2 separate regions of the Homo sapiens genome follow, and region 2 is linked to region 1. Evidence: promoter capture Hi-C in human tissues and cell types (Jung and others, 2019). All regions are on one chromosome and are shown on one strand. Each heading gives the region's core, a stretch centred on a gene start or on the middle of the fragment in contact. The rest is flanking DNA. Distances are from core to core; before and after follow the strand shown. Region 1 holds the start of PPARD (peroxisome proliferator activated receptor delta). Region 2 overlaps FKBP5 (FKBP prolyl isomerase 5).

Region 1 (6,122 bases), core at 3,623-6,122:
CAGCAAAACAACTCCCTGCCCTGTGGAGTTTATCTTTTAATGGGCGCAAAGGTGGGAATCTCCATGCTCCTGAAAAAACTATGTAAGCCATAGACTTTCAATAATTACTTAATAAATGCCTATACTATGCATAAGCAACTGGTACCAGATGCTGTGACAGGAACCTGGAATCTGGGAATAAGCCCTAGTGAAATTATTTCATCTTCAAGGTCAGGATCTTAAATCTGGATCCTGTGTCAGTGGTGGTCAGAGACCCCTGAGTAAAGAAAATGGGATTACCTCGTTGGTGCATCTGTCTTCATCTGTTGGTGAGCAGAAGCCACTGTGTGAGTATCACGTGCATGCCCAAAACACTGTACAACACTGCAGGATAGAAAAAACCCCAACAGCTTTAGCTGACAGGTGCCAGGGGCCCTCAAAGCAACTCTAATAAGTTATACCCACCGTAACTCAAAGAGTGTTCCTAAGGTAATCTGGCTCCTCGTCGGTCCCTTACACACCACCCTGAGATGTGATTCTGAGCCTGAGTCAGCAAATATTTCCCCAATCCTGGAAGGAGTCTGCTCACTCCCAAGTAAGCAGACACTGGCTTTGCTGATTTTATCAGGTCGGCGCAGAAGGCGCAGGCAAGGTAAGAAGGGAGCTGGGTAGAAGCTCATAAATGAAGATGTCCTGAGTCATAGTTGATGCCTTCACCAAAGCCCCTGCAGAATGAACTGGAGTCACATGCCAATCACCAGCCTGCTGAGTTATGAAGGCTAGGAGCCATCTGCCAAGGAAGAAGACCCATATGTCTGAAACCTGATGCAAGGGGCCATGTTCTCCCTGCCAGGCTCAAGGCAAGCTCCAAGGGCTCCTCTGACACCCTGGAATCCAGCTGTTGCAAGCAGCTCCTCACCCTGGCTCCAACGGCAGAGAAAAATGTGCATGGACACCAAACCATCTCCAAGAAGCAGCCATTAGGTAATCTGGGACATGGCATTGACAATGGCACCGGGCACAGGGCTTCTGACATCATATAAGCAAGGGCCTGGCAGAACGGACAAAGCCCACAGAGACCTGGGTAGGGAGGAAGAGAATGTTTCCAGTGTGGGCAATGCTGAGCAGTAAAGCTGTGTCCTGCAATTTCCAAGCCCTTCAGAGGCACTGGAGCAAGGCACCACTGTTCAGCTTCCCAGCCTGCAGAGAGCACTCAGGGAGGTGGGCCTCAGGGACAGGATATAGCTGAAGCCCTTAGAAGTGACAGGTCCAGGCTGGTTGTGGTGGCTCACGCCTGTAATCCCAGCACTTTGGGAGGCTGAGGCGGGCAGATCACGAGGTCAGGAAATCGAGACCATCTCGACTAACACGGTGAAACCCTGTCTCTACTAAAACTACAAAAAAAAATGAGCCAGGCGTGGTGGCGGGCGCCTGTAGTCCCAGCTACTCAGGAGGCTGAGGCAGAAGAATGGCGTGAACCTGGGAGATGGAGCTTGCAGTGAGCCAAGATCGCACCACTGCACTCCAGCCTGGGCGACAGAGCGAGACTCCATCTCAAAAAAAAAAAAAAAAAAAACGAAAAAAAAGTGACAGGTCCAACTCCTGAGAGAGAGGAGCTGCACTATCCCAGGATGTGCCAGAATCTGCAGGCCCTGAAGACAGCTTGCACAACAGTCAGGACAGCTGTAGGCCCAAAGCAGAGGCCTAATGGCTTCCCAGGCTAGTGCTCTACACTGTCTATCCTCTTACCAGGCCCTAAGGGAAGGCGTCTAAGGGACCACAGGTCGGGTTGAAAGGCTGAGTAGGAGCAATTCTTCCTGAATGGGTTAAGGCATATATCACACAAGAAGGCCATGGTGAAGAGGCAAGGAGAAAGGCACCTGAACGAGCAGTCAGTGTAATCTCAGTGCTCTGAGAGGCCAAGGTGAGGAGGACTGCTTGAGGCCAGGAGTTCGAGACATTGTGAGAGCCTGTCTTTACAAAAAAATTGTTTTTTAATTAGCTGAGTGTGGTGGTGTGCACCTGTAGTCCCCGCTACTCTGGAGGCTGAAGCAGGAAGATCCCTTGAGCCCAGGAGTTCGAGGTTACAGTGCACTATGATAGCACCACTGCACTCCAGCCTGGGCAATAGAACAAAACCTTGTGTCAGAAAAGAAAGAAGGAAAGAAAATCCAGACCCAGACTCTGCAAAAATCACTGAATGGGGAAGGAATTTGGTAATTGACAATCATGACTACCTTCTCAGAAAATGAGAGTGGACAAACTGCAAGAAGCTATCCATCTAGGGCTGCTGGTGCCCAAGCTGCTCCACAAGGACTGGCCTTGACCTGTTCTCAAATCTCTCACCTGCCACCACAGCAGAGAGCACTACTAAGGGGTAAGCACGGCCAGAAGTAACAAACTGCTCAAAAGAGTAAGGAGGAGTCCTTGAAAGCCAGAGACTAGACTAAAAATCTGTCCAACACTTGACCTCTACCTCTTTAGAATGATCCACTAAAACCCTGGAGAGATGCTATTCACAGGAACAAGGAAAACCCTCTGGTCCAGTCTACCCAAATCTTTGCAAGTGCTGCAAAGGGGGTCTGGGGGTCAGTGGAGAAGGGACTGGCTCAACAACAGGCCATCCACAATCCTATTGCTTTCACAGAAAACAGTGTACAAGAGGATTACAAAACTTTAAAGTCTGGTCAAGCTGGTTCCTTTGGCTCTCCACCGCAGCTCCTAAAGGTTGCCAACTCCCATGTCCAATCTGGCTCAAAGACAGCACAATCATCAAAAGAGGAGCCCCTAGAAACCTGGGGCCAGGTGAAACAATGAGCCTTCATTTCTAAACATGAGAGTGGGTCACGCTTTCAGAATCCTCCAAGATCAGACTGGGTAGAAACAAAGGATATGTTATTTCTTGAATACTTCTTTAGAGAACCAACGCCAAATAAAGGAGCTCAAACTGAAGGATATGACGAGAATCTTCTGCTTGGTAAGGTTAAACATCCAGACACACATGGAAGGTGGTGGGCTCTCAAGCCCCAGAGAAGATGATCTATGTGACTGGAAGCAGATGTGTCTGCTCAAGTTCCTGACAAGGTCTAACTACTGCAGCCCCACAGCCCACCAGGGTAGTTATCAATCTGATACCTCATACTATGCCTGGGCAAAGGGAACAGAGCTCTGGGATTGCCGTTCCTCCTGGATACAGAGGAAATTAAGCTCCCAGGGAAAAAGAGGGACAATTTGGATTCCCTAGATTCAGAAAAGAACAAAGAAAAAAGAGGGAGAAGAGACTCCAAGAGAACATGTTCAGTGACCAACATCAGAGGCACATTCAGTTGGCCAAAGATTGTCAAAGAGATATGAGAGAAAATCAGCAGCTGTTTCAAGCCACCAATAATAAAAGGGGACAGATGCCCGCCAGCCCCAGGGCTATCAGGCCAGCAATCTATTTCAAAACTCAAACGGGAAAAAAAAAAGTTCTGGAGCCAGTACACAGAAAAAAGGTTGAGGACCACAAGTATTTTCTGGAGCACAGCTTCTGGAGAATTCTCTTAGTCCTTTCGGATGGAGCACAGGGTGGAGGGTGGGAGTGAGGGCAGAGAGAGGCTGGGGTATCATGGTATAAGTGTATTCCACACATCCAGAGTGGAAAGACACAAAACCCCGGTTCCTGGAAGGGGAAAAGAATTGGACAAAGCCTCCGGCTACCCGTGGCACACATCCAGCTCAGCGCCGTCTCCCCCAAGGGTTCCTGGAAGTCAACAGCCCCATAAAGGGGAAGTATTAAAGCTGAGATAAGAAGAATGGCCTACAAATTGGACATCATCTCTGATGCAACACCCACGTACATTCTCCCACACAATCTGTTATTTCCTTTAGTCAATCAGCCTCTTAATTCGATCAAGGTCTGAACACCTCCACCCCCACCCCATGGTTATGTCAACTGCAGGTCAAGTGAAAGTAGAGTAGAGTGTGGAGCTAAGGCTTCTCCCTGAAGCAGGGGAAAGGAACAGGGAGAGAAAAGGAGGTGGGCGACAGGAATGTAGGGGACAGAATTGATACGAAGGAAATCGGAAAAAGGAGCAAAAACAGGGCCTCTCAGGGAACCAAGGTGAGAGTCTTAGGGAGACAGGGACTGCAGGCACGGAGTTGGAAAAAGCCTAGGAACACCCTGGGGAAGAGGATGGGGACCCATAATACTAGGAGGGATCAGACCACAGATAAGAAGGGGACAGGGATGGGGAGAGAGAGTAAAGCCTGAGAGAGCAAGGATGGGAGGATGAAGGCAGGAGACAAGGATAACGAGGGGGACAGAGGAAAAGATCCCAGAGAAGACTCTCGCTAGATAGGGCAGTGGATTCAGGAACACCAGAAACGGGTGAAGGAAGAGGTCAGAGGCAGGGGAGGGGAATGGGAGAGGCCCCCGGGCCTGAGACGGGGTTCTCACAAGTGGGAGAAGACGAAGCCACCAGGCCCAAGAGGGGGCAAAGAGTAGGGTGGAAGGAGGCCCGTATTTCGGACTCACTCAAGCAGCTATGGGGGTCCAAGGGCGGGGGGGCGCAGGGTCAGCGGGGCGCCTACATGGCAACGCACGACGGCTGACCGGAGCGGGCCGGAGCATCAGGAAGCCGCCGTGACGCTGTCCGCGGACCCCGGCAGCTCCCCGCACCCCGTTCCCCGCCGCCGGGCCTTGCGCCCCAGTCCCGCTGGCCGCCTCGGCCCAGGCCCGGCGCTTCCCTCCGCCACTTGCCTGACCGCTTCTCTCGTCTCGGACTGACCTGTCCCGGCTGCCTACGGCGCCACCGCCGCCGTCCCGCAGGCTCCGCAGAATTCTCCCGCTCCTGCCAAAACTTTTCCCATTAATCCCCAGGTCCGCGGCGGCCGCAGCGTCACACGCTCCGCGGCCCGGCCCCGCCCCCGCCAGCGAGACGTCACCGCGCTGCTCGGCCTTTCCCTCCCCACGCCCCCTTCCGCCCGGCGGCGGCCAATCACCACGCCTCCTGGAGACTCCCCTAATTCTGCCTCTCCGCCCACCGCACGCTGCCCCGGGCCAGCCTGTGGCGCCCTCTGGTGCGGGATGCGGACGTAGCAGCTAAGGGAGGAGCAGGGGAGCGCCAGGTCCAGTAGAACAAGTCCAGCAAGTGACACAAGAGGGAATTTAAAGCTGGAAGGGAATTTCTAGGTCATCTAGTGCAACCTCCTCATCTTCCAGTGAAGAAACTTAGTCCTAGAAAAGGTACGTGACTTGCAGTGACAAGTCTGGAGAGACTCTTAACCCAGTGCTAGGTCCACTGGAGGAGATCATATCGCCTATAATTTTCAAAAAAGGGCTTTCCGCCTTCAAGAGGCTTCTACAACTGGAAATTTACGGTCTTAGAGTTCTTAACCTTTCTTCCCATGTGCTTATGCAATACGCTTATTCACCTAAAATAGGGGACATCCTCCTTATTGTTGTAGAAAATTCTGTTCTTATTAATCCACATCTTTAAGACCTGGAAGGGACCTATTATCCCAACCTACCGCTTAAGATGTACCACAGGAAACTACCTAGCAGCTGGGAGGCAATCTGGTGGAAGAAGTTGGCTTTCATCTGACGATGAACAAAGCTTGACTCTCAGGTATATGACCAATGCCTCCCCTCCATCATCATTAAAGATGACCCCTCCCCTCTCCTTCGGCCACACCTTCCGTAGGCCGCAAGCTCCTTAGGCCACACCTAGCTATCTGGATGAGTGATTTTTTTTTTTTTTTTTTTTTTTGAGACACAGTTTCACTCTGTCGCCCCTGCTGGAGTGCAGTTGCGCAATCTCAGCCCGCTGCAACCTCCGCCTCCCGGGTTCAAGCGATTATCCTGCCTCAACCTCCCAAGTAGCTGGGATTACAGGCATGCGCCACACGCCCAGCTAATTATTGTAATTTTAGTAGAGACAGGGTTTTGCCATGTTGCCCAGGCTGGTCTTGAACTCCTGGACTCAAGTTATCCTCCCACCTTAGCCTCCCAAAGTGCTGGAATTACAGGCGTGAGCCACCGTGCCTGGCAGGGATGAGTGATTTTTTCCCCCTTCTTTCTGCTTCTCTTTTTCTTTTTCTTTTTTTTCCCCTACTTTTTGAAATGCTTGTGCATTATATTTGTAACTTAGATGTCAACCTCC
Region 2 (6,122 bases), core at 2,077-4,576, 260 kb before region 1:
TTGTCATGGTGGCCAGGACATTGCTCAGCTCCTCCTGCTTCCTCTTGGTGCATCCCCACCCTTGTCTTGATGAACTTGAGGGCCCATTTGTCCTTGGAGACCTTCAGTAACTCCATGGTGCACCGCTCGTATGGGGTGAAGCCACACAGCTCTCAGATCATGTCCGGCACGAACTTGGTATATTTGGTCAGGTGCCTGCAGCAGCGGCTGTGCCTGGGCGTCCTCATGTTCTCGGTCACCTTGTGGCCCTTGTTGAGGCCCATGGCCATAGGGCAGCACAGAGCCATGGCCGCTGCTCTCCAATGGTGGCCGTGGCAGAAGGAAGCCCACATTTTTATCCAATCCACCATTGATGGACACCTAGGTTGACTCCGTGTCTTTGCTATTAAGAATATAACTGTGCTTAAGAGTAAGTGCTGTGTGTGGCTCATGCCTGTAATCCCAGCACTTTGGGAGGCCAAGGTGGGATGGTCACTTGAGCCCAGGAGTTTAAGACCAAACTGGGCAACATAGTAAGACCCCATTTCTACAGAAAAAAAAAAAAGGCCAAGCATGGTGGTGCATGCCTGTAGTGCCGGCTACTCAGGAGGCTGTAGTGGGAGGATCATTTGAGTCACATTTATACCACTGCAGTCTAACCTGGGCAACAAAGCGAGACCCTGTCTCAAAACAAAACAGGCTGGGCGTGGTGGCACATGCCTGTAATCCTAGCACTTTGGGAGGCTGAGGTGGGTGGATCATTTGAGGTCAGGAGTTCAAGACCAGCCTGGCCAACATGGTGAAACCCTGCCTCTACTAAAAATACAAAAATTAGCTGGGTGTGGTGGTGGGCGCCTGTAGTCCCAGCTACTTGGGAGGCTGAGGCAGAATTGCTTGAACCTGGGAGGTGGAGGTTGTAGTCAGCTGAGATTCTGCCACTGCAGTCCAGCCTGGGCAACAGAGTGAGACTCTGTCTCAAAAAACAAACAAACACACAAACAATGCTGCAGTAAACATGTCAGTGTAAATGCCAGCTATCTTTCTGATAGAACGATTTATTTTCCTTTGGTTGTATACCCAGTAATGGGATTGCTGGGTCAAATGGTACTTTGATTTTTAGTTCTTCGAGAAATTTCCAAAACTGCTTTCCACAGGAGCTGAACTAATTTCCATTCTCATCAACACTGTTTAAGCATTCCCTTTTCTCCACAACCTTGCCAACATCTGTTCTTTTTTGACTTTTTTTTTTTTTTTTTTTTTTTTTTTTTTTTTTTTTGAGACGGAGTCTCATTCTGTTGCCCAGGCTGGAGTGCAGTGGCGCGATCTTGGCTCACTGCAACTCCCGCCTCCCAGGTTCACGCCATTCTCCTGCCTCAGCCTCCCGAGTAGCTGGGACTACAGGCGCCCACCACCACGCCCGGCTAATTTTTTAAAATATTTTTAGTGGAGACGGGGTTTCACCGTGTTAGACAGGATGGTCTCGATCTCCTGACCTCATGATCTGCCTGCCTCGGCCTCCCAAAGTGCTGGGATTAAAGGCATGAGTCACAGCGCCCGGCCTTGACTTTTTATTAATAGTCATTCTGACTCAGTTGTGAGATGGTATCTCATTGTGGTTTTGATTTGCATTTCTCTGATGATTAGTGATGTTCGGCATTTTTTCATGTTCGTTGGCTGCTTCTTCGTGTCCTTTGCCTACTTTTTAATGGGGCTATTTGCTTTTTTCTTGTTGATTTGTTTAAGTTCTTTTCTGGATATTAGTCCTTTGTCAGATGCATAATTTGCAAATGTTTTCTCCCATTCTGTAGTTTGTCCATCTGCTTCGTTGATAGCTTATTTTGCTGTGCTGAAGCTCTTTAATTAGGTCCCAACTGTCAGTTTTTCTTTTTGTTGCATTTGATTTTGGGGACTTAATCATAAATTATTTGCCTAGGCAATGTCCAGAAGAGTATTTTCTAGCTTTTCTTCTAGGATTTATATAGTTTCAGGCCTTACATTTAAGCCTTTAATCCATCTTGAGTTTGTTTTTGTATATGGTGAGAGGTAGACGTCTGGTTTCCTATTTGGATGCCTTTTATTTCTTTCTCTTGCCTGATTGCTCAGGCTAGGACTTGCCGCATACTGATTGCTGTGGCTCAGTACCATGCTGAATAGGAGTTGTTAAGAGTGGACACCCTGTTTTTTTCCAGTTCTTAGGCGGAATGCTTCCAACTTTTGCCCGTTCAGTATGATATTGACGGCTGGGTGCAGTGGTTCACACCTGTAATCCCAAGACTTTGGAAGGCCGAGGCAGGAGGATTGCATGAGCCTAGGAGTTCAAGACCAGCCTGGGCAGCATAGTGAAACCTTGTCTCTACTAAAAATAAAAAAAATTAGCCACACATAGTGGCATGCACCTGTAGTCCCAGCTTACTTGGGAGGCTGATGCAGGAGGATCACTTGAGCCTGGGTGATACAGGCTTCGGTGAGTTATGGTTGCACCACTGCACTCCAGCCTGGGCAATGGAATAAGACCTTGTCTCAAAAAAAAAAAAAAAAAAAAAAAAAAAAAAGATATTGTCATAGGTGGCTCTTATTATTTTGAAGTATGTTCCTTTGATGCTTAGTTTATTGAGGGTTTTTTATAATGAAGGGATGTTGGATTTTATTGAATGCTTTATGCTGATTGATTCTGAACATTGATAAAGAGGTATATATATATATCTTTAAATGATTTGTTCAGACTTTAATGGAAAGTACTAGTAAGAATAGCATGTAGAATTTCCAAATCACCCCATGTGGAGTGGGGAAATAGAGGAACAAGGAAAACTTCATCAATTGAGCAAAAATTGTTTTAAAAAATAAGAAAACACGGGCCGGGCACGGTGGCTCACGCCTGTAATCCCAGCACTTTGGGAGGCCGAGGCACGTGGATCACGAGGTCAGGAATCGAGACCATCCTGGCTAACATGGTGAAACCCCATCTCTACTAAAAATACAAAAAATTAGCTGGGCATGGTGGCGGGCGCCTGTAGTCCCAGCTACTTGGGAGGCAGGAGAATGGCGTGAACCCGGGAGGTGGAGGTTGTAGTGAGCCGAGATCACACCACTGCACTCCAGCCTGGGCAACAGAGCGAGACTCCATCTCAAAAAAAAAAAGAAAACACTGTGTAGAAAACCAAAGACAAGAATAAAACCACTCATATCAGTGATTACAAAAAATATGAATGGGATAAAGTCACCTATTAAAGGCAAAAGGTCTCATAAAGTGAGAACAACAACAGTATCTAGCTATGTGTTCTTTATAAATGAAACACTAAAATCAAAAAGGTACCAAAAATTGAAAATAGAGGAAAGATTACGTCTGCCCATATTGAGATCTGATGGAGCTGTGAGACTTTACATTTTTGTTTTTCATATGCTTTTGAAGTATTTATGAATGTCCTGGGATATAAGTCTAGGAATAGGAGCAAATTCTTGAAACCATTTTATTATATGTTTTCACAAAATAATGTAATATGGTACTTGGTCTAAAGTGGCCAGTGTTTATTCTTTCAAATATTTTGGATTTATATAATTTCTTTCTTCCAAAAAGTTATCTTCAAGTCTTCAGGTAGAATAAAATCATAGTAGAAAATAAGTCTTTCTGGCCAGCCATGGTGGCTCACGCTTGTAATCCCAACACTTCGGGAAGCCAAGGTGGGAGGGTTGCTTGAGGCCAGGAGTACAAGACCAGCCTGGCAACATGGTGAGACCCCATTCTTAACAACAACAACAACAAAATAGCCAGGCGTGGTGGTGTGTGCCTGTAGTCCCAGCTACTAGGGAGGCTGAGGAAGGAGAGTAGCTTGAGTCCAGGAGTGTGAGGCTGCAGTGAGCCATGATCACACCACTGCACTCCAGGCTGGGCAACAAAGTGAGACCCCCAACTCAAAACAAAAACAATAAAGAGGCCGGGCACGGTGGCTCACACCTGTAATCCCAGCACTCTGGGAGGCCAAGGCTGGAGGATCACTTGAGGTCGGGAGTTCAAGACCAGCCTGGCCAACATGGCGAAACCCCATCTCTACTAAAAACACAAAAATTAGCTGGGCATGGTGGTGCGGGCCTGTAGTCCCAGCTACTTGGGAGTCTGAGGCACAAGAAGTCCTTGAACTCGGGAGGCAGATGGTTGCAGTAAGTGAAGGTTGTAGTGAGGCAAGATCACGCCACTACACTCCAGCCTGGGCAACAGAACGAGACTCTGTCTCAAAAAAAGAAAGAAAACAGTCTTTTGTTGCTGCTGCTGCTGTTGTTGTTGTTACAAAAAAAAAAAAAATTCCAGCCAATTGGCCATTTATTTTAGAATAGTATTAAAAAACAAAGTTTCCATATCAATATAAAATTTGTATAGCTTCCTAGAATTTATTAAAATAGGAATACTAATAGATTCAAAAAGGAAAATTTGTATAAATTAGTGAAAATTACCACCCTGTCCTTAATGCCCTATTTTAAGATTAGTCATTAAATAAATATTTACTTGCTGGCCCTGAACTCTGTGCTGGGTACTGTGAGGCACAAAAGAAGTACAAGATACTGCCTTTGCCTACTAAGAATTTTATTCATACTTTGACAGCTTTCTGTGTTGAACCAGTAAATGTTTTCTTACACAGAGCTCTAAAACATGTTTAATCTGGTATAATTTACCACTAGGCACAGGAAAATAATTATAGCTAACATTCCTTTAGTTTGTCTCTGTATATCCACACTTAACAACAGCATTTTCACATGATAGACACCCTGACATATGAATGAATGAATGAATGAATATCAGGTGCTAGATTAAAAGCTCTAATTCAGTATCTAATTTAATCCTCTCAACAATTATCATTTAGCTAGTGTATTATCCACATTCTATCAGTGAAGAAACTGAGCTTCAGATCACTTTAATTACCTTGCCCAAAGTCATAATTGAAGTGGCAGAATGGGACTGGAATCCAGGTCTAACTCAAGTGCTATAGTGGTGTGAAGGGAAGACTGGTAAGGGTTGGTGTTCATGGAGAATTTGTTGCTGGGTGTATACTTCTTGTTTAGATTTCCTGTTTTGAAAACATTCAAACTTGATCAACCAAAAGAAATCATTTGCATAAATGTTATTCAGTTCCAGGAGCCAGGTTCCACGCCTGTTAGCATCTGTCCGTCAGTTCTGTAAGCAATCTTACAGTGGTGTGTGTTCATCCTAAGTAGTACAAAACAGTGCAGAGGAGGAAGGCGGACAGCTTAGGGGAAATCTGACCACCATGCGTGTTGGAAGTATTTCTCTTGTTCTCCTGCTTTTAGAAAGCCATCTCTGCTTGCTTTTTCAGGGGGTTATTAAGATCCTACTCTCTTGGATACTGTGCTCTATTAGGCAGGAGACACAGGCAGAAAGAAGCTCACTTGGCATGAATTAGGCAACAGAGAAAACTCTTGCTCAGTGGGAGTAACCTGTCACAACCTGGTTTTCTCTGGCCAGATAACCAGTCTTGTCGAGTAGTAATGCCATTACAACATTCCCATTCAGATCCTCATGACCCAGTAATTGTTTTGAGAATGAGTGCAAAGCTATCAGACACCAACTACTATAATTAGAAAAGGGAAAAATAGACACTTACCAGAGCTAATGTCTTTAGGCTGGAGCATTTACAGCTTTTTGTTTTTTGTTTTTTAAGTTATGGAGCCTCTTTCTCAGTTTTGCTTCCTAAAATACAAATTGCATGGTTTAGGGGTTCTTGCATTTCATTTTTGTTACTGCTGTGCACTCTCTTTCCTTTTTTCCCCCCTATTTTAATCGGAGTACAAATTGCTGTCAGCACATCGAGTTCATGTGCCAGCCACATTCAGAACAGGGTGTTCTGTGCTCTTCAAAACAAAATTGCTCTAGGGCAGTAAGAGAACAATAAGTCAGAGCTCCAGTTTAAGTGATGTTTTGCAGCTCGCTTGATGTGGTTACACTCCGATTGCGCAGCTAAGCTTGGGTAATTTGGTTTGGTTTGACTTTGTGGGGATTTGGAGGACCTCCCTCCCCCTTTAAGTTACATAGTCTTTAAGTCAAGAAAAAAATGTTGTCTCTTTTTAACTTGTTTATTTCTTTCTCTACCAAAAAAGCCCTAAGTAGAAGCATCCTGTATGTACTTTTATTCTCT

Evidence for each region. Contacts are between HindIII fragments. The study calls those that stand out against the background at their distance.
Region 2: a contact is called between a fragment that was not itself captured here and the fragment with the promoter of PPARD in region 1, in 1 of the 25 tissues and cell types used here (liver).

What each region holds. Positions count from the first base shown.
Region 1 is chr6:35,341,308-35,347,429 of GRCh38, reverse strand. It overlaps PPARD (peroxisome proliferator activated receptor delta), which reads right to left and starts at 4,872. Exons shown (of 8, transcript NM_006238.5): 1 at 4,749-4,872; 2 at 280-363. RefSeq lists silencers at 4,411-4,460, 4,491-4,630, 4,811-5,020. The HindIII fragment of the contact is 18,171 bases long and covers 1-6,122 here.
Region 2 is chr6:35,601,793-35,607,914 of GRCh38, reverse strand. The region is part of intron 5 of FKBP5 (FKBP prolyl isomerase 5); the gene reads left to right. It also overlaps the pseudogene RPL36P9. Among named protein-coding and RNA genes, the nearest start is that of MIR5690, 60 kb to the left of the region's middle. RefSeq lists a silencer at 5,249-5,543. The HindIII fragment of the contact is 9,658 bases long and covers 1-6,122 here.